Linked DNA regions of Homo sapiens: region 1 is linked to region 2. Evidence: promoter capture Hi-C in 16 types of primary human blood cells and fetal thymus (Javierre and others, 2016). All regions are on one chromosome and are shown on one strand. The core of a region is centred on a gene start or on the middle of the fragment in contact, and the rest is flanking DNA. Distances in the headings are between cores, read along the strand shown. Region 1 overlaps OSBPL8 (oxysterol binding protein like 8). Region 2 holds the start of PHLDA1 (pleckstrin homology like domain family A member 1).

The links. The method cuts DNA at HindIII sites, captures the fragments that hold promoters and counts their contacts. A CHiCAGO score of 5 or more calls a contact.
Region 1: a fragment that was not itself captured here is called in contact with the fragment with the promoter of PHLDA1 in region 2 in 1 of 17 cell types (total CD8 T cells); the score reaches 6.1 in total CD8 T cells.

Annotation. Positions count from the first base shown.
Region 1 is chr12:76,553,392-76,556,928 of GRCh38, reverse strand. All of the region lies in intron 1 of OSBPL8 (oxysterol binding protein like 8), which reads left to right. Among named protein-coding and RNA genes, the nearest start is that of OSBPL8, 4.6 kb to the left of the region's middle. The HindIII fragment of the contact is 241 bases long and covers 1,670-1,910 here.
Region 2 is chr12:76,030,526-76,034,090 of GRCh38, reverse strand. PHLDA1 (pleckstrin homology like domain family A member 1) reads left to right here and starts at 2,315. Exons shown (of 2, transcript NM_007350.3): 1 at 2,315-3,565. The coding sequence starts at 2,350. The coding sequence ends at 3,555. It overlaps PHLDA1-AS1 (PHLDA1 antisense RNA 1), which reads right to left. Exons shown (of 2, transcript NR_186034.1): 1 at 3,497-3,565; 2 at 2,713-3,180. It overlaps PHLDA1-DT (PHLDA1 divergent transcript), which reads right to left and starts at 2,278. Exons shown (of 2, transcript NR_185978.1): 1 at 1,289-2,278; 2 at 1-827. RefSeq lists an enhancer at 2,160-2,409 and a silencer at 2,630-2,779. The HindIII fragment of the contact is 8,299 bases long and covers 1-3,565 here.

The sequences.
Region 1 (3,537 bases), core at 541-3,040, 520 kb before region 2:
ACTTTGGGAGGCTGAGGTGGGCAGATCATGAGGTCAGAAGTTCAAGACCCGCCTGGCCAACATGGTGAAACCCCGTCTCTACTAAAAATACAAAAAAATTAGCTGGGCGTGGCAGTGTGTGCCTGTAATCCCAGCTACTTGGGAGGCTGAGGCAGGAGAATCGCATGAACCCAGGAGACAGAGATTGCAACGAGCCAAGATCATGCCATTGCACTCCAGCCTGGGCGATAGAGCAAGACTCAGTCTCAAAAAACACCAAAAAAACAAAAAGCCTCTGAGAAATATACAATTTTTAGTGAAGGTGGCTGGGTACAAGGAGATTAGTAGAAGTGCTTGACTGGAGCAGTTGTGGCCAAAGTATAGCTTCCTTGTGATGAGACACAGGAAGAGATGTCTAGACTCATGTTGTGTGCATATTTCATGGCAGTATGTGGGAAACCCCTGAGAGATTTTAGATCTTTCTTCCCACCTTGGTCCCCATCCCTCACATATCCTCACAAAGTCATAAAATTCTCATGTGGAAGGCGTGATAGAAGGAATTTTTCTTCCTGAAAAGTGTTATCAAGCTTGCAAGGGAGAGAGCTATTTTCGGAGACCTTATAGGGAAGAAATCCTAGTCCTAGAGCATCATATTCTTATACCCTGTTATTTTTACCTTTGTCGAAGATCCAGATAATGTAAATTCTCCATGATAGCAAGGACCTTGTCTGTTTTGCTCACCATTGAATCTCCAAATGTTCAATAGTTAATGAATGAAAAAAGTCTACTTCCAGATATATGACTGGAGAACAAAAGGAGTATCTGATAATGTAGTCCAAACTAAATGCAAGCAGCGAAATGATAAAGGAAGGATGTTAGCTTGGGAGAAGGGGAACAGGTCATTTAATCTGGGAAACTTTCTTGGAGGAGGTGATTCTTGAGTTAGGTTTTGGTGTGGGCTGTGTGTCTGAAGATAAGCAGTGTCTAAGGGGGTAGACAACGTGCAGCAAAGCATTTAAGTCAGACTGAATAAATTATGTCAGATAAAGCACAGTAAGTCTTTTTTTGTAACATTATGAAGAATTTTTATTCTCCCATCTCTATTTTCACCTCTCCCTAAATAAAAAGATTAACTTGCTTTGCAACAGCAGAGATTGACAGTACTTGAGTTTTGGAAGTACGATAAGGGTCAGAAAATTTGAATTGGTGTTCTGACTGAATCTTATACAAGCGTCGTTTCCATCGGCCAATCACTTGGTCTTAGTTTTCTCATTTGTAAAATCAGGATAATAATCCATGATCGTTGGGAGAACAAAGTTATATAATGCATGTGAAAGTGCATACCTCAATATGAATGTGCCTACCTCAATGTGTCACACATAGGAGGACTTCAGCAAATACAAAATTATTAAAACGTTTGTCTGCAGATCTTTAAAACATATTTTGATTCGTTTATCATGAACTCTAATATTTGCTTGACTCATCTAGATGACTCATGGCATTATGTTTAAATTGATCAGAATCAAAATTCTAGATAATTTTCTTTCAGTCAGTTTAATGTTTTCTGGTAGAAATGAGGCCTAATTGTATTACTGCTTAATGTTACAGACCACAAGGAGTGCTAGAAGCCTCAAATTTTTGAAGCTCAAAGTAAGGGATATGTGTAGCTGAAAATCTGAGCCTTTAAGCTTTTTTTCTCTACGTAATTTGTTTTTGAAGAAATTGTCTTTGCCTGTAATGTCATTTATCTATTCATTGTTGTGATGAAATAAGGGGTTTTCTGGTTGTTAAGAAAAAATTTACCAAAAATATTTTCTGTTTTTAGTGATGTGACTATAAGCCATGAAGATCTCTACCATCTGTGTTTTATTATAAAATTCAGTATTTCTTGAGCAAACAAACAGACATCTGCATTATTTCTTATCTAAGCTTTTTGTGCCAGTAGCTGTTCATTTATGAATCTCAGAATTTCATTATACTTTGTGAACTCTTTGTAGTGTTTTTGATCCATGGAGCAGTCTGTCCTTTGTATAATATTTGGAAGAGAATTTTATTATAAAAAGACTAAGAAGAGTCTTGAGCCTTTTTATTATACAAAGACTAAGAAGAGTCATCAAATGATAAGCCAGTTACCTACTAATTTCCATATTCAAAAAGGACTGAAAAAAAGAGGAAATGGTTTCAGAGCTTGACTTTTTTCAAATAAAAAGGAGAAGCTTTTTGATTTAGAGTTTTTGAAAACTTGATAGATTCAGAGGGAAATTGTTATAGGTCATATTAATAGCTAATGTGCGTCAACTGCTATATACCAGGTACTGTACTACTCTAGAAGTACTTGACATGTCATCACATTTGATCCTGACAACCACCCCGCAATCAGGCTATTTTCTTTTTTTTAAACCTGAGCAACTGACAGATTAAATAAGTGGTGGAGCCAGGATTTGAACTAAACCTGAGGCACAGAGAAGTTAAGTAGTAGGTGGTAGAGCCTACTAAAAGGATTTAAACTTGAGGTTTAACCTGACCTTTGACTTTGGAGCCTATCCTTTTAACCATCATATTATATACTGCCTTGTATAATTTATTTGCAGTTGCTCCTCTTGATACGTCTTGACCTTGTGATCTTCCTGAGTCTGTTTTAGTTGTGTCATTTACAAAATGCACTTTACTTTATAAGAAGATGGAATATAGCCTTGATTTTTTTTCTCTCATTTTACTTGTATTTGACTGACATCCTATTTTTAAATCTTAAAAATACTTAGAGTAAAGCAAATATTTATTTTATTGTTCATCCAGTTGCCATTTTCTCACTGGGGAATTTCAGAGAATTTCGGAGTAACTGGAAATTAAAGAACATAATAGATAACAGTATTTAAAGCTAAGTTGTTATAATTAAAAAATAGTTTTAAAGAATAAGGCTGATTCACAGAATTGGTATGCATTTTTTTTTAGTGTTTTTTTTTTTTTTTTTTTGAGATAGAGTCTCACTGTGTCACCTAGGCTGGAGTGCAGTAGTGTGATCTTGGCTCACTGCAACCTCTGCCTCCCGGTTTCAAGTGATTCTCATGCCTGAGCCTCCTGAGTAGCTGGGATTACGGGTGCATGCCACCATGCCCAGCTAATTTTTTGTATTTTTAGTAGAGATGGGGTTTCACCATATTGGCCAGGCTGTTCTCGAACTCCTGACGTAAAGTGATCCACCTGCCTCGTCCTCCCAAAGTGTTGAGATTACAGGCGTGAGCTACCTCCTCTGGCCTTTTTTTTTTTTCTTCTGATACAGGGTCTTGAGCTGTCACCTAGGCTGGAGTGCAGTGGCACTCACTACCATGGCTCACTGCAGCCTCGACCTCCCAGGCTCAAGTGATCCTCCTGTCTCTGCCTCCCAAGTAGCTGGGACTACAGGCGAATACCATCACACCTGGCTAATTTTTAAGTTTTTTTTTTTTTTTTTAGAAACAGAGTCTCACTATGTTGCCCAGCTTGGTCTTGAACCCCTAGCCTCAAATGATTCTCCCACCTTGGTCTCCCAAAGTGCTGGGATTATAGATGTGAGCTGCC
Region 2 (3,565 bases), core at 1,066-3,565:
ACACCTGGCTAATTTTTTTTTTACATTTGTAGAGGGAGGCCTTGCCATGTAGCCCAGGTTGGTTTCAAACTCCTGGGCTCAAGGGATCCTCTCACCTCAGCCTCCTAGAGTGTTGGTATTACAGGTGTGAACCACCATGCCTGGCCCAAAAGTTGTTTTTTTTTTTTTTAAGTTATTTTCTGTAATGCATTTTCTGTGAATTTATTGTCTTAAAAATTGGCAAATATGGCCATTTTGACATATTTGCCAAATATGAGCATATGGCAACTATGCTCTTAATTTGTTAAGTCACCAACTGTTGGTGGTAACTGTTGAAATAACAAGAGCAAAGTTATCACCAATCTACGGGATCCTTACACTACTGATATTTTCAATAATGCACCGTAGTCAGACATTGTAGACTTAACCTCTGAGCTGCTCACAAAATTACTAAATCATTCTGAAATACGTAACTGCAAATTCTGGGCTTTAAAGTCTCTAGTTAAATGGGTGATTTTGAAAATTGGTGGCTGTTCAGACATTTTCAAATGAGAATAGAATGCATTTGTTTCAGACTGATAAACTGCAGAAGGTTAGATAACACCAAACACATTTGAGTTTCTCCTAAGAAAATGACTTGGGCCTCCAGATTACATCTCATTTTTTTTTTTTTTACCCTATCAAGTTTGTTTTTCCATATGAAATGTCTTTCCCAACTACACCTGCCCTTGGAGACTGTGAATAACAGACTTAAAGGAAGTATCCTTTCCAGATGAGCTGAAGAATGTCATCCTCTTAAAAGAATGAACAGCTGGTCATGTAGAAATTCTCTGGAATGCTCACTTGTCCTACAAAGGCAGGGGAGCAGAAAACATGTAGTTTTTTTGTTATTGGTATACATAATTGTAAATCTTCGAGATAATTTTACTAGAAGTCCACATAATTTTAATAATTGCCTTTCTCCTGAAAAGATTGCTAATAAATTAACAATGTGAAGGCTAGAAAGCTGGCCAAGCATAATCCGGTGGGACTCAGGATTGCTGGCTGGATTGTCCCGTTTGATCAGACATTGTTTCTTAGATGAATATTCAGGACGCCCTCGTGTATAAAAGTTGTCCTTTGTTCTGACTACCTTGGTATTAAGTTCGAATTTCTTACCATGACACACAAAGGATTCGATTCTTGCTTAGCTCTCTAAGCTCCTCTCACTTTCTCTTCCCCTCTTGAATTCTTTGCTCTTGCCACACAACTAGCAGATGAACTAATCTATCTGTTCCAACGTGGGCACAGTAGCAGCCGTAACTCTTACCTTGGCCCACTCTGACTTGTCCAGCCCTGGTTGAATTCTTCGTATCCCCGTGAGGGTCCGCACGTAGTTGGGGCTGTTTACTAAACGGATGAACTTCCCTACCGGGAGGCTAGGTCTCGGTTATGCCTTACTTCCCAGGAAGCGGCTTCTATAGGCATTGTTTAAATGTAGGAGTAGGAGGGAGCTGGGGGTATTGCATTCCCCAGGTCACAGATAAATGAGATTCCAAAACCAAGATCTGGCTAGGCCTTGGAAAGAGGGACCTGCGAGGCCGACCAGACGTTTGGAACTGCGCCTTGCAGTGTGGGATCTCAGCACCGGATATTACCCCGGTTTGTAGAGAGTTGAGTTACTGTTTTAAGAGACGTTGCAAACCGTACGGGTCAAGAAGAAAGCCGAAGACGGGTTAGCGCCTGCGGTCGGGGTCGAGAAAAGCAGGCGAGATGCGACCTGACGTGGGTCCGCCTCTCTCCACCCGTGGCAAGCCCGACAGTCGCACTATTGCTTTAACAATCGCCCTCTTTCCAAGAAGAGCTACTTAGTGACCGTGAGCGAATATGCGTGGGAAGACACGATGTCCTCTCGGCCTCTGTGCGCTCAGTTGTTTACCTAGGCGTCCGGGGGAGGCACACTCGCGGGACTCGCGGGACTCGGCCCCGGCCTCCCAGCTCGCCCAGGACACGACGCTGGTTCTGCGGGCTCTCGGAGCCCAGCGCGAATCCCCCGGGCTAATTCCCAAGAACCGAGAGGCAGCACTGCCTGGAGGCTGCCCCCGCCTCCGCGCCCCCGTCCTCACTTTCTGAGGCTGTTAGCAGAGAGTCCCGCGGGCCGGGGAGAAGCGGGACGCGGGGGATGGCCTCGCAGCGCCCTGTGAGCGTCGGCAGTAGTCAGGCAGCCAGGGCTCCTTGGGCGATCGCCCTGGGTAGAGGAGAGGAGTTTCCGGGGCTCGGGTCCGGGTCGCCTTCCAGGGGAACGAGCGCGGAAGCAAGTGGGCGGCGAGAGGCGGAGCAAGAGACGCTGGAGGGCGTGGACGCAGCGGGCTTTGGAAAGGCCCCAAGTTAATGAGGCGTGCGCCGGCTGCCGAGCGCCTCTTGGAGCTGGGCTTTCCCCCGCGGTGCGGGCGCCAGGAGCCGCCTTTTCCGCTGGGTGTCACTCGGGGGTGGGGAAGATGGCCCATTCAAAAGCGCCGCGAGGGGGCCCGGCCAGTGCCCTTCAGTGAGCGCTCGCAAGAGGACGGCAGAGGCCCGGCAGCTCGGAGCTCCGGGACCTTGTGGCGCATCAGGACGCGGCTGTCCCTCTGCCGGGACCCAGAGCCGCCGCCGCCGCTCTGCCTCCTGCGTGTTAGCCTCCTCTGCGCGCTCCGGGCAGGCGGCCGTGGGAGCCGCTGGGGCGAGGACGGCGCGAGGCTGCTGCTGCTGCCCCCGGCCCGCGCGGCTGGAAACGGAGAGGCCGAGCCAAGCGGCGGCCCCTCTTATGCTGGGAGGATGCTGGAGAGTAGCGGCTGCAAAGCGCTGAAGGAGGGCGTGCTGGAGAAGCGCAGCGACGGGTTGTTGCAGCTCTGGAAGAAAAAGTGTTGCATCCTCACCGAGGAAGGGCTGCTGCTTATCCCGCCCAAGCAGCTGCAACACCAGCAGCAGCAGCAGCAACAGCAGCAGCAGCAGCAGCAACAACAGCCCGGGCAGGGGCCGGCCGAGCCGTCCCAACCCAGTGGCCCCGCTGTCGCCAGCCTCGAGCCGCCGGTCAAGCTCAAGGAACTGCACTTCTCCAACATGAAGACCGTGGACTGTGTGGAGCGCAAGGGCAAGTACATGTACTTCACTGTGGTGATGGCAGAGGGCAAGGAGATCGACTTTCGGTGCCCGCAAGACCAGGGCTGGAACGCCGAGATCACGCTGCAGATGGTGCAGTACAAGAATCGTCAGGCCATCCTGGCGGTCAAATCCACGCGGCAGAAGCAGCAGCACCTGGTCCAGCAGCAGCCCCCCTCGCAGCCGCAGCCGCAGCCGCAGCTCCAGCCCCAACCCCAGCCTCAGCCTCAGCCGCAACCCCAGCCCCAATCACAACCCCAGCCTCAGCCCCAACCCAAGCCTCAGCCCCAGCAGCTCCACCCGTATCCGCATCCACATCCACATCCACACTCTCATCCTCACTCGCACCCACACCCTCACCCGCACCCGCATCCGCACCAAATACCGCACCCACACCCACAGCCGCACTCGCAGCCGCACGGGCACCGGCTTCTCCGCAGCACCTCCAACTCTGCCTGAAAGGGGCAGC